Regions from separate parts of the Homo sapiens genome. Here all the other regions are linked to region 1. The links are contacts of gene promoters, found by promoter capture Hi-C in blood cells and fetal thymus (Javierre and others, 2016). All regions are on one chromosome and are shown on one strand. Each heading gives the region's core, a stretch centred on a gene start or on the middle of the fragment in contact. The rest is flanking DNA. Distances are from core to core; before and after follow the strand shown.

The links. The method cuts DNA at HindIII sites, captures the fragments that hold promoters and counts their contacts. A CHiCAGO score of 5 or more calls a contact.
Region 2: a contact is called between the fragment with the promoter of DHDDS here and the fragment with the promoter of TRIM63 in region 1, in 2 of 17 cell types (M1 macrophages and M0 macrophages). The highest score is 5.5, in M1 macrophages.
Region 3: a contact is called between a fragment that was not itself captured here and the fragment with the promoter of TRIM63 in region 1, in 6 of 17 cell types (M2 macrophages, M1 macrophages, M0 macrophages and 3 more). The highest score is 9.5, in M2 macrophages.
Region 4: the fragment with the promoter of ZNF683 here is called in contact with the fragment with the promoter of TRIM63 in region 1 in 6 of 17 cell types (M1 macrophages, monocytes, M0 macrophages and 3 more); the score reaches 6.1 in M1 macrophages.
Region 5: a contact is called between a fragment that was not itself captured here and the fragment with the promoter of TRIM63 in region 1, in 1 of 17 cell types (M1 macrophages). The highest score is 5.7, in M1 macrophages.

What each region holds. Positions count from the first base shown.
Region 1 is chr1:26,066,357-26,068,936 of GRCh38, reverse strand. It overlaps TRIM63 (tripartite motif containing 63), which reads left to right and starts at 1,307. Exons shown (of 9, transcript NM_032588.4): 1 at 1,307-1,601; 2 at 2,497-2,580. The coding sequence starts at 1,443. The HindIII fragment of the contact is 10,936 bases long and covers 1-2,580 here.
Region 2 is chr1:26,431,043-26,433,622 of GRCh38, reverse strand. It overlaps DHDDS (dehydrodolichyl diphosphate synthase subunit), which reads right to left and starts at 1,302. Exons shown (of 9, transcript NM_205861.3): 1 at 1,247-1,302; 2 at 615-732. The coding sequence starts at 677. LOC124903883 (a long non-coding RNA gene) reads left to right here and starts at 1,386. Exons shown (of 2, transcript XR_007065557.1): 1 at 1,386-1,650; 2 at 2,505-2,580. RefSeq lists enhancers at 983-1,472, 1,010-1,546, 1,573-1,632, 1,703-1,762, 1,547-2,083. The HindIII fragment of the contact is 8,751 bases long and covers 1-2,580 here.
Region 3 is chr1:26,389,883-26,392,462 of GRCh38, reverse strand. No RefSeq gene overlaps it. Among named protein-coding and RNA genes, the nearest start is that of ZNF683, 18 kb to the right of the region's middle. The HindIII fragment of the contact is 474 bases long and covers 1,058-1,531 here.
Region 4 is chr1:26,371,472-26,374,051 of GRCh38, reverse strand. It overlaps ZNF683 (zinc finger protein 683), which reads left to right and starts at 1,302. Exons shown (of 6, transcript NM_001114759.3): 1 at 1,302-1,383. The HindIII fragment of the contact is 11,410 bases long and covers 1-2,580 here.
Region 5 is chr1:26,349,203-26,351,782 of GRCh38, reverse strand. All of the region lies in intron 1 of CRYBG2 (crystallin beta-gamma domain containing 2), which reads left to right. Among named protein-coding and RNA genes, the nearest start is that of CRYBG2, 3.6 kb to the left of the region's middle. RefSeq lists a silencer at 154-352 and an enhancer at 1,568-2,414. The HindIII fragment of the contact is 1,767 bases long and covers 411-2,177 here.

The DNA.
Region 1 (2,580 bases), core at 58-2,557:
AGTTACCTGATGTATACTAGTACTCAGAAAAATGTCTGATGAATGAATAAAATTTCTGTCTTTGCCACTTATTTTCTTTCTTTTTTGTTTTGTTTTGTTTTGTTTGGAGATGGCGTTTCACTCTTGTCACCCAGGCTGGAGTGCAGTGGCGCGATCTCAGCTCACTGCAACCTCCACCTCCTGGGTTCAAGTGATTCTCCTGCTTCAGCCTCCTGAGTAGCTGGGATTACAGGCGCGTACCACCACACCCAGCTAAGTTTTGTGTTTTTAGTAGAGACAGGGTTTTACCATGTTGGCCAGGCTAGTCTCGAACTCCTGACCTCAAGTGATCCACCTGCCTCAGCCTTCCAAAGTGCTGGGATTACAGGTGTGAGACACCACGCCCGGCTGCCACTTACTTTCCAACTGACTTTGAATATAATCCTTTTCTTCTCTAGTCCCATTTCAAAATCTGTAAGATGAGGGGACTGGACTGTGTTTCAAAGGAGGCTTTTCAGCACTAAGTGAAATAAGTGGCCGAGGGATGGAGGATGGGCTGGTTGGAGTGGGGGTCTCCATCATCTCCAGCAAAATGCTGTGCTGAAGTCTGAGGCAGAGGGATGGGCTCAGAGAGAGGGGCTGCCCGACCCTTCCATCTAGGAGCTGCCCAGGACTCCAGAGGAGGGGATGGAATTGATTTAGGTCAGTGAGGGGTTGCGTGGGGCTGGGAGGGGGTTGAGGTTGGGAGGCTGAAGGAGGAGACTCCCTTCAACCTGGGAGGTGGAGGTTGCAGTGAGCAGAGATCGTGCCACTGCACAATCCTTTCTATCTCCCTTCCTGGGCTGTGAGTTTCTCGGGGCAGGGAAACAGATCACTCATCCATCTGTCACGTTGTGATGTATACTAGTTGCCTGATGTATATACTAGTACTCAGAAAAATGTCTGATGAATGAATAAAATTCATTCATCGAACATTTTCATCATAGCATTGGCTATTAACCCCTTGAATCCCCGTGGCTCACTTGCTGGGTCCCATCCCTGACCCACTAGCCTGGTGCCGGGGGGAGACCAATTTCTGGAGGAAGCTCTGGGTACCCAGTCTTGCCCTAAGCCTGCCTCTGAACAGGCTGTTCTTGTTTATGACCCCCGTCCCAGCAGAATAGTGATTGCTCATCCCTGCATGTGATTTGAGAGGGCCAGTCTTTCAGGCCTGGAGGAAACTCAAGCCCCACCAGCCGCTTGGCATCGGAATGCTCAGCTGGTCCCCTCCTGGGGCTCATGTGACCAAGATCTAGCTATAAATATCAGAGGGGCCTCAGACCAAGACAGAATTCGGGCACCAGGAGAAGGAAGCCAACAGGATCCGACCCGGTGTTTTGTGACAAAGGCAAGACCCCCAGGTCTACTTAGAGCAAAGTTAGTAGAGGAGGCAGCTAGGCGTGGCTCTCATTCCTTCCCACAGAATGGATTATAAGTCGAGCCTGATCCAGGATGGGAATCCCATGGAGAACTTGGAGAAGCAGCTGATCTGCCCTATCTGCCTGGAGATGTTTACCAAGCCAGTGGTCATCTTGCCGTGCCAGCACAACCTGTGCCGGAAGTGTGCCAATGACATCTTCCAGGTAAGTGCCGGGTGCAGCTTCATTTGGGGTCCCCAGGTGGCTACTTGGCTTCCCTGTGATGAAACCCTTCTCCCTTAGACTTCCAACCTGGACAGCCTCTTTCCCCTTGGAAGTGAACCCCTGCAGAGGCCTCTGGACAGGGCTGAGAGGGGGCTGGGAGGCGGCTCTGGCTGCTGCGGTTCTTCTCCATAACACAAGTTTCCCCTCCCTGCCCTGCCCACAGCTCCCCCACCCCTGCCCTGAGCACTGCTGTTGACTCTCCAATCAAGAGTCAAATGCCTCAAGTGATAAGCGGGGTAGGCAGGGACAGGAGAGAGAAACCAGACCCCTGGGGCTGGAGCCAGGTCCTGGTGGCAAGAGGCCCAGAGCTTTGGGAGGAGGGTGTCAGGGAGGCAGTGGGCAGTAGAGGCATCTTCCCTTTTGAGGCTGTTCCCTATGATATGGGGGCAGAAGGGGCTCCAACTCCCCGAGAAAGGAAGGGGGTAGATGTCCTGGCTGGGAGGCAGGATGCGAGGTTCCCCATGGACACTTTACAAAATGTTCTTTCACGATATTATCTTTAAAGTAGCAGCCTTAGGAGCTTGCTCTCATTGTAATACCTATTTCATAAGTGGGCAAACTGAGGCCTACACAGATAAGGTTGCTTGCCCAAAATCACTCAGAGAATAAACATGACTTGAACCCAGGTCTCCTGCCTCCCCATCCTGACGATTGCTTAGCTGCTTCTCAGGTGCTCTGTGTGTGAGGACTGGTTCTCATCACAGTCTGCAGAGCTCCAGGTTGTTAGGTTTGACGGGGGTGGTTCGGATAGGCAGAGGAAAGGATAAGAGGAGATTAGAAAAGAGAAGGGCTAAGTAGGGAGCCCAGGCCTCACCTTGACCTTTGCCACCTGCAGGCTGCAAATCCCTACTGGACCAGCCGGGGCAGCTCAGTGTCCATGTCTGGAGGCCGTTTCCGCTGCCCCACCTGCCGCCACGAG
Region 2 (2,580 bases), core at 53-2,552, 360 kb before region 1:
CCAGGCTGGAGTGTGGTGGCACAATCATGACTCACTGCAGCTTTGACCTGGGCTCAAGAAATTCTCCCACTTCAGCCTTCCGAGTAGCTGGGACTACAGGTGCACACCACCAAGCCCTGCTATTTTTTTAATTTTTTGGAGAATCGGGGTTTTGCCATGTTGCCCAGGCTGGTCTCAACTCCTGAGCTCAAACAATCTGCCCACCTCAGCCTCCCAAATTGCTGGGATTACAGGCGTGAGTGACCGGGCCCAGCTCTACTGACAGATCAAAGAATATATCAAAGATTAACCTATTTAAATCAAGAAGACAGTACATGGAACAATGGATCAATGTTCCAGGGAAACAAATTTCAGTTCTCTATAAAGAATACTTAGCAGTCTAGGCTGCCCAGTGACATTAAGAGGCCTGGGCTTCCAGAAAATATCAGAGTTAGGACAAAAGTCTACCAGAAATGTAGACCTGGAAGTTACCATTCTAAGACTCTTTGGTTTCCTTGCTAAATTCCACTTAACATCATGAATTGCACTTAACATCATCAACTTTAATAACAGGTTTTTATATAAGATTATCCAACTGACCAGAAGGCCAACCGGTGCTCTGGGCCATTGCTCACCTTTATGATGTTGGCACAGAACCGCTCCCAAAGTGACAGCTCTCCTTCCTTGATCCATGACATAGTTCTTTTCCAGTCAGAAGATCACTCCAGAACAAGCAAACACCAGCCAGGTAATCTTGGATAAACAAGAAAGAAAATAAGAAGTCACCAAGGTTTGCGAAGAGCTATAACTGACTTCTGGGGAATCAGATGGACTATGGAGAGCAGCCAGCATTAGAATCCAAAGACACTGGTCTAAGCCTATAATCTTTTACCACCCAGAGTTTTATAACGCAATGTGACCTCTGGAGGCAAAAGCCTTTCCTCGGTTCTCCTGGCTTTGCAGACTTCTTCCCATTCCCATTTCCTCCGTATCTGCACTGACTTCTTCTGAACATCTAAGTCGGTTTCCTGCCACATCATGGTGCCCACATCTTGATCATTCCCCGTTTCTTCCTTCTCCATCTTCCCCTAAGCTGTTTCCAACTCTGTGCTCCCAGTTACTAACTCCTTCAGTTATCGCACGCCTAGTACTTCACGCCTCAGTGGTCTCCTGATTATTCCCTCAGTCGTCCCTTTGCTTCTCCCGCAGCTGCTCCCCGCCCAGTCACCCTCTTCTCCTCTAGTTCACCCCTTCAGTTCAGTGGCACCTGATTAGCTCCGCTGGGCGCGTCCCCACGGCTTCAGTGGGCCGGCACTTCCTCATGACGTGGCGCTGGCAGAACACGTCATCTTTGGGCGCTGCGACACGCCCCTTCCGTCACCCAAACTGAGGGGACCCTGCCCTGCGCCTGCGCCTGCGAGCTAGTGGGAGGGCGGTTCTCAGTCCCGCGGGGTGTGGAAGCCGGCGCGGGTGAGAGCCAGGCTCACGTGACCGAGCGGGGCGGGAGGCTGGGCTCCAGGCCACGTGCTGGGAGACCAGCTGGGGAAGACAGGGTTGAGCCCAGCGTTGGGAGCGGAGGCGTCTGGAAAACGCGCCAGGGAAATGAGCCAGGGGCAAGAATCGAGGCGCTTCTCGGCCGTCGAAGGCAGCTTAGGACTGCTGAGAGACTGGGTAAGGCAGCGTCCTTACCTTGGAATGCCGCAGAACCGGGCTTCATTAGAGCACTGGTGCATACTCTTAAAAATTATCTCGTTACCGTTTCGTATTTTATTTAGTGGATTTAATCGTCTGGGAAGGAGTTTCTAGCCGCAGCCAATCTTACAGACGCGCAGAATATTAATCTATTTTGTGCCGACTTAAGGCACGCATATTTTAGGATTTGTGGATTCCCAAGACCTATCCCAACGAACTCAAGAGAAGGGGTAAGGCCAGAAAGATTTCTGCCATAAGAATGACTTCTAGGCCAGGCGCGGTGGCTCACGCCTGTAATCCCAGCACTTTGGGAGGCCGAGGCGAACGGATCACCTGAGGTCAGGAGTTTGAGACCAGCCTGACCAACATCGTGAAACCCCGTCTGTACTAAAAATACAGAAAATGAGCCGGGCGTGGTGGCGGGCGCCTGTTATCCCAGTTACTCGGGAGGGTGAGGCAAGAGAATCGCTTGAACCCGGGAGGCGGAGGTTGCGGTGAGCCAAGATCAGGCCACTGCACTCCAGCCTGGGCAACAGGAGCGAAACTCTGTCTGAAAAAAGAAAAAAAAAAAAAGCATGACTTCTAAAATAACAGAAAGGTGCTCGCTTTGGCAGTACATAAATGAAAATAACAGAAATTAACCCTGGTAGAAAAGTTAAGGGCATTAGCTCTACTGAACCTTTACGAAAAAAAGGGTTGCAAGAATTCTAGGCTCACAAAACAAATTTGTAGTTCAATTTTCTCAAAATTGAAAGAGGAGGAAAAAATTCTTTACAGATTCTTATACAACCAGTATTATTTTTATTTATTTATTTATTTATTTATTTATTTAGAGACGGAGTCTGGCTATGTCGCCCAGGCTGGAGTGCAGTGGCGCGATCTCGGCTCACTGCAGCCTCCGCCTCCCGG
Region 3 (2,580 bases), core at 45-2,544, 320 kb before region 1:
TCTACTAAAAATACAAAAAATTTGCCAGGCTTGGTGGCAGGCACCTGTAATCCCAGCTATTTGGGAGACTGAGGCAGGAGAATCACTTGAGCCCGGGAGGTGGAGGTGGCAGTGAGCCAAGATTGCCCCATTGCACTCTAGCCTTGGCAACAAGAGCAAGACTACATCTCAAAAAAAAAAAAAAAAAAAGACAGTAGTCAGGAATTTCTCATTCACCTTTTTCTAAATACCTCATCCCAGGTATCTTCTCACCAACTATTCTCCTCCAGAGAAATCCACTGTTCTGCCATACTTTTAGCGGGATCCTGTTTCAGAAACACACTCACCTACCCCACCACCACCCCACCAACTTTCCTTGCTCTTCACCCACCAGTCCTCGTCCACCTCCACCCCAGTGTCCCAGCCAATCACTACTGATTGATTGATTTGGGAGGAGGGGGAAAGAGGATCGATGGAGGACTCTGGGCCTATTCTTATTCAAAGCAAAAGGTTTAAGAGGGGGTGGATATTCATTGTGGAGAGGATGCAGAAATCGCTGTGGCGCTCCACAGCCTTGCTGATGTGGTCTGCAGCGTGGGGGAGGGTGGGTCAGGCCACTGGGGGTGGGGACGGATGCTCTGAAGGCTGGGAGGACAGTGGTGTGGGGGCTGATAGAGGTAAGAAGAAGGCATGCATCAGCAGTCTGGGCATAAGGTGAGGTTCCCCAACTCTGCCCCTCAGGGAGGAAATTTATGACCGAGAGTCATTCTTCCCAGCTCAGAGAGGATGCCCTGGGTACTCTCAATGTCCAGCAGGGGACACCCTTACCCCACATGACCCCTTTCCTCATCCACCATCACTAAGTTCCGTTGTTCATTCATTCATTCATACATTGAAACGTTGTTTGAGTGCCACTATGTGCCAGACACCATGCCACAGACTGGAAAAATACAGGCATGAACAAGATAGATACACAGACAAATGAGGTTCCAGGCCTTGTGGCACCAGCAGGGCAGGATTACAGTGAACAAATAGTTATAGTGATTTAATTTAAGGGAAAGGAGATCAGAAAAAAGCTTTCCTCAGAAACTGATTTTGAAACAGAGACTTAACAGATGCCTAAATCTTGACCAAAGAAAATGTGAAAAAGAGGTAAAGGGGGGGCGTTTGTATGTGTGTGCATGTGTTGAGAGTGTGTTTCAGGCAGAGGGAACAATTTATACAGACCTTGAAGCAGAGAAGATCAAGGTTCCTTTAGAGGGATGAACAGAGAAACCTGTGCACAGCTGGATTCAGCTTTGGTTGGAGGTTTAACCCTTTAAATTGTAGAATGCATGCATGTGGACACACACACAGACACACACACACACGTGCACACACACAGCCGGGGCCTCCATTTCCCAAGGCGCAATTTTCCTGGTAATCACTTTTTTTTTTTTAAAGAGAAGGCAAGGACAGAGAGCCAGCAGACCTCTGAGGCCTTTCCAAAGTAATCAAACTCAAAACCTGTCTTCCAGGAATGAGTGGAACAGAGGTAGATTTAGCTTAAGCTTCAGGGCTTCTCCTTGGGAGGAGTTAAGTAATGTGTGCAAATGATTTTTTTTTTTTTTTGAGGTGGAGTCTGACTCTGTCATCCAGGCTGGAGTGCAGTGGCACGATCTCGGCTCACTGCAACCTCCATCTCCCGGGTTCACGCCATTATCCTACATCGGCCTCCCGAGTAGCTGGGACTATAGGCGCCCACCACCATGCCCGGCTGATTTTTTGTATTTTTAGTAGAGATGGGGTTTGACCATGTTAGCCAGGATGGTCTCGATCTCCTGACCTGGTAATCTGCCCGCCTCAGCCTCCCAAAGTGCTGGGATTACATGCGTGAGCCACCGTACCCGGCCTTTTTTTTTTTTTTTTTTTTTGATATGGAGTTTCGCTCTTCTGCCCAGGCTGGAGTGAAGTGGCAAAATCTCAGCTCACTGCAACCTCCGTACCCCAGGTTCAAGTGATTCTCCTGCCTCAGCCTCCCAAGTAGCTGGGATTATAGGTGCCTGCTACCACGACCGGCTAATTTTTGTATTTTTAGTAGAGACAGGGTTTCACCATGTTGGCCAGGCTGGTCTTGAACTCTTGATCTTAAATGATCCGTCTGCATTAGCCTCCCAAAGTACTGGGATTACAGGCATGAGCCACCATGCCCGGTCAATCTAATATTAATAGAAGGCACAGAGCCCACCCTGTGGGGGCCTCCTCATCTCAAGGTGAGACCAGGACTCAACCAGGGGAACCCCTGGTCAGATGGGAAAGACACAGAACCTGCTCTCTGAGAATCTGATCCCCTGACCTTCTCAATACTAACCTTGGCTGGGAGTGGTGGTACGTACCTGCAGCCCCAGCTATGCAGGAGGCTGAGGTGGGAGGATTGCTTGAGCCTGGGAGGTTGAGGTTGCAGTATGCTGTGATTGCATCACTGTACTCCAACCTGGATGACAGAGCAAGACCCTGTCTCAAAACAAAACAAAACAAAACAAAACAAAACAAAAATCACTAACCCTGCCCCTTCCTCCTCATTCTGCTCCTAGATGCCCCTCCAAAACTGGCTGGCCCTTC
Region 4 (2,580 bases), core at 53-2,552, 310 kb before region 1:
AGAGAGAGCAAGAAAGAAAGAAATGAGGGGGTGGCTGTCGTAGTGGGGGAAGCTGACATGGCCAAGAGATGGCAGAGTCTGAGGTTTACCACTAAAGAGCTCTTGGCTACTTGTTGTGTGACTCTGGATGAGCTGCTAATAATAAAATCCACCACACAGGCTTATTGTGAAGACTAAATGAGATAAAGTTTATGAAGCCCCTAGCACAGTGCCAGACACAGCAAGAAAGCTGTTTGTAAAGGTGGCTATTTACTCTGTTCCTTGGACAATTCCAGCTGGAACCCTGTTACTTTATCTTCTATTCTGGGCATGTATAATGCAGAATTATCAGTTGTAAGCTACAAAAACCATTTCAGGAGGAGTTAAGCAGAAGGAATTTGTTTAAAAGATGTTAGAAAAGCTCGCAGGAGGTCTGAGAAGGCTGGAGAGCAAGGCTTGGAGAATAGGATGGATCAAGGGAGGCTGGAAGTAGACAGGACCATGGCCAAATATCACACCCCAGGACCAGCCCTGCACAGATTCTGCAGCCTCCCCTGAACCCCCTTCTTTCCTTCACTGCCCTGGAAGCCGGATGTGGTACCACAGCCTTTGTTGTAGAGAGGAGTTTCCACAGACCTGCCACCTCAGGACCAGTGGCTTTTTTTATTGTATTTTATTTTATTTTGAGATGGAGCCTCACTCTGTTGCCCAGCCTGGAGTGTAGCAGAGCCATCTCAGCTCACTGCAACCTCCGCCTCCCGGGTTCAAGCAATTCTCCTGCCTCAGTCTCCCAAGTAGCTGGAAATACAGGCACGTGCCACCACACTTGGCTAATTTTTGTATTTTTGTAGAGATGGGGTCCCACCATGTTGGCCAGGCTGGTCTTGAACTCCTGACCTCAAGTGATCTGCCCGCCTCGGCCTCCCAAAGTCCTGGGATTACAGGCGTGAGCCACTGCGCTCAGCCAGTGGCACTAGCTTCTGATCTGCTAGTCTACTGGGCTGCAGTGGAGATTAATGGCTGCTTGGGGCTTTTGTACCCTGGGCCAGACTCACGCACACCAGAATTTGTGTGAGGCCACAGGGGTTATGCCTCTTCTCATGCTCACAAGACTCGGCTTGGCAAGGAAATGTCCCAGGAGGTGGGCTAAGACAGACTCCCTCAGGTTCCCACATGGAGCAGCCTCTGCCTGCCAAGCCCTTCCTTGCTCTCGTCTCCCAGATCATCTGTCTTGTCAGCCTCCATGCCCTGTGATGTCACAGGCCTAAATGTGATGTCACTTTGTCCCACATGCCCTGGGGAGGTAGCACAAAGGGAGGACCATGGTCTTCTAACTGAGGAACCTGAGCAGATGCCTTGACCCAGACCAGAGACCCAAGCCAAGGAAAGCCCATGATCACCAGAGTAGGTTGGGAAGTGCGGATAGAGGGGAAGTAGTTTTTATTTTTTTCTAACAGAGAAGTTGTGCAAGGTGTTCTGAGAGTTGGGAGCAGAGTGTGATGCCAGGAGAGGGCAGAGCTGGCAGATGGAAGCCAAAGGTGTGCGGGTCACCCCTTCTGGGTGGGGACATCTGATCGACCTAGTCCATGTATGCCTGCATGAAGTGCTGGTGAGGGAGGTTGGAATTAAGTATTTGGCCATTTCGGCTTTTATAATGGGAGGTACCTTTTGCCTCCCTCAAGACTCATGTAGGGGAAAAGTTTCAGAGGCTGGGCGTCCAAAAAAACCTGACAGATGTCTACATGGAAAACCAAAATGAGTAGACAGAGGACCCTGTCCTTGAGATGCTCACAAACATGTTGGGATCAGTTATGTGGAGGATGAGTCACAGCCCTAGGGGCTGAGCTGGCAGAGAAACCCCAGGAACATGCCCCAGCCCATGGTGCACAGCCTGAGATGTCCCTGTATATTCTGGGACACCAGGGTGGCGTGGCTGGGGTGCAGATTGATGGCTGGTTGGGGCTTTTGCACCCTGGGCCAGACTCACGCACACCAGAATTTGTGTAAGGCCGCAGGGGTGATGCCTCTTCTCATGCTCACAAGAATAATGACATTGCTCAGGCTAAAAAGCCACTTTCTGGCCTATGAGGTCTCCCTTTTTGTATCTAGACATGTCTTTTCCTTATTTATTAACTTTTTTTAAGACAGGGTCTCGCTCTGTCACCCAGGCTGGAGTGCAGTGGCATGATCTCAGCTCACTGCAGTCTCGACCTCCCTGGCTCAAGTGATCCTCCCACCTCAGCCTCCTGAGTAGCTGGAACAACAGGCATGCGCTACCATGCCTGGCTAATTTTTGTATTTTTTGTAGAGATGGTGTTTCACCATGTTGCTCATGCTGGTCTTGAACTCCTGGGCTCAAGCAGTTGGCCCACCTCAGCCTCCCAAAGTGCTGGGATTACAGATGTGAGCCACCACACCTGGCCTAGTCATGCCTTACACCCATTTTGCTATGTCTATTTTTTTTTTTTTTAAAGAGACAGGGTCTTTCTCTGTCACCCAGGCTAGAGTGCAGTGGCAATATCCTAGTTCACTGCAGCCTTATATTCCTGGGCTCAAGTGATCCTCCTGCCTCAGCCTCCTGAGTAGCTGGGACCAGAGGTG
Region 5 (2,580 bases), core at 45-2,544, 280 kb before region 1:
TGAACTGTCGAGTGGTGACCTCCCTGTCCCTGGAGGTATGCAGGCAGAAGCCAATGACCACATGCTTGTGGAATGACTGGCTATCAGGGGTGTTGTCCAGGGGTTGGGCTGGTTGAGAAAGACGTTAAATTCTGATTGGTAGGAGGTCATCGACAATATCTGATCTCATGATCGGCCGCCTCCTTTAACATTGCTCTCCTGTCGCTTTCCTGATGCCTATGGCGCTTTCCAAATGTCCCTGTTTTTATGTCTAATTCCTTGGCCCCTGGCTTCTTAATATGCCACCTTTCATGAGAAAGTTGGCTCTGGTTCTGGTTGAGTCTAGCCAAGGCCTAGCACATCCCTTGATACAATTAGCACTGAATGAGTGAGTAATTGAATGAATGAATGAATGAGTTAGAGCTCAAGCTTTGCCACTTACTATAAGCACCATCAGAGACAAGGAAGCTCGGAGAGTGGAAGGCAGGTGGACAGGGGCTTAGGAGGTGCTCAGCGAGGGCGTCAAACTTCATTTGGGCAGAGTCCCAGCGAGGAGGGCAGGGGTTGCATGAGGAAAAAGGGAGCTCCCTAATGGGGACAGGGGAGTGGGCTGGGGCCTCAGTGAGAGGCTAAAATCCAGAGCCTTTGGTGTCTGGCTGTGTACTGCTCTCAGGAAGCCCTGGCCTGGGAAAATGACCAGGGCTCTACCTAACCCCTCCACCTTCCAGTCCCCCTTGGACCCTGTCCCTGACACTGTCATAGCCACCAGCAGTCCTGGAGTCAGGTCAGGCTTCCCGGGGCTTCAGTCTCTTTCATCTCTGCCCCTCATAAAGCCTGAGTCACTGCTGTGGCCACAGGGAAGGGTCAAAGTTCTGAATTCCACCAGCTTCTCAGGAAGGAGGACAATGGGAAATGGGGGAGGGGAGTGGGGGCAGTGGGTCCATTTCCTGCCCAGAGTCAGGTCTCTTGGGGAGGGGAGGGTACCTCATGGAGAAGGCCCAAAGACTCGGGCTGAACAGGCTGGCCTCTCTGGGGTTCGTGGGGCCTAAGAATAGGATTGCCCTGGTCAGTGTAGCTTGGAAGTCAGGGAGTGGGGGTGGAGACGCCCTCCAGGACTGACATGGCTCCCTGTAAATGTAAACCCCCAAACCAGAGACTCAGTTATAGGATACATATATTAGGGAGTTTGGTATGGTGAGTGAGCACTTAGGGTTGGGGTTCAAGTCTTGTTTCGGTTACTCTGTGACTTTGGACAAGTTTCTTAACCTCTCTGAGCATTTAAAAAATCTCATCTGCAAAATGGGAAGGTATGATCTAATTTATTAATAATTTATTCTTTATGAGGTCTCAAGCTCCTGGGATTCTTCTGAGGCTTCAATGGGACAATGAATCTAAAGCACTTAGCAAGGTGTTTGGCAGAGTCAGCCCTCCCCAAATGGCTGTTTTTGTTGTTGTTGCAACTAGTAAAACAGAGAAATTCACCTGAGAGTTCCTAGGGAGCTTAGTCTATTTTCTGTTGCTTATAATGGAATACCTGAACCTGGAAGCCCAAGGTCAAGGGGGTGCATCTGGTAAGAACCTTGTTGGTGATTCTCTGCAGAGTCCCGAGGGGGCTCAGAGCATCACATGGCAGTGGGGCTGAGGTGCTAGTTCAGGTGTCCCTTCCTCTTCCTATAAAACCACTGGTCCGGTCAGGCACAATGGCTCACACCTGTAATCCCAGCACTGTGGGAGGCGGAGGTGGGCAGATCTCTTAGGCTCAGGAGTTTGAGACCAGACTGGGCAACATAGTGAAACCCCAACTCTACAAAAAATACAAAAATTAGCCAGGCATAGCGGTGCAGGCTTGTAGTCCCAGCTACTCGGTGGGCTGAGGTGGGAGGACTGTTTGGGCCCAGGAGGCAGAGGTTGCAGTAAGCTGAGATTGTGCCACTGCACTCCAGCCTGGGCAACAGAGCAAAACCCTGTCTCAAAAAAAAAAAAAAAAAAAAAAAGCCTCTAGTCCTACTCCCATGATCACTCATTAATCCATTAAACCATTAATCTATTAATCCATGAGTATATTAATCCATTCATGAGGCATAGCCCTCATAACCCAATCACTGCTTAGAGGCCCCACCTCTCAATATTACCACATTGGGGATTAAGTTTCAACATGAGTTTTGGAGGGGACAAATATTCAAGCCATAGCAGAAGCTTAGAAGGTCTTCTTTGGCAGGTGTTAATATTATCCTACATTTAGTAAGGGAGGCTATGGAGACCCAGAGAGATCAAGGAAGAGTCAGAAAAGAAACAAGACCCAGGCCCCACCCCTCCAGGACGGAGGGTGAGACATGCTCTGCTGAGGATGATCACAGGAGCAGCTGGACATGCCCCAGAGCTGTGGCCTGGGGGTAGGAGGGAGGATGCCTGGATGTGAAATCAGAAGATGGGAATTTAAATCCCTGCTTGACAACCTCATAGCCGCGTCATCCTGGGCCAGTCACTCGTCTTCTCTGACCCTCGGTTTCTTAACCTTCAGTAGGGAAAAAATCACAGAGGACAGAATCGAGGGAAGAGTGCCTTGTAAAGCCCAAGTGCCCTAACGGAGCCAAGGGGCTC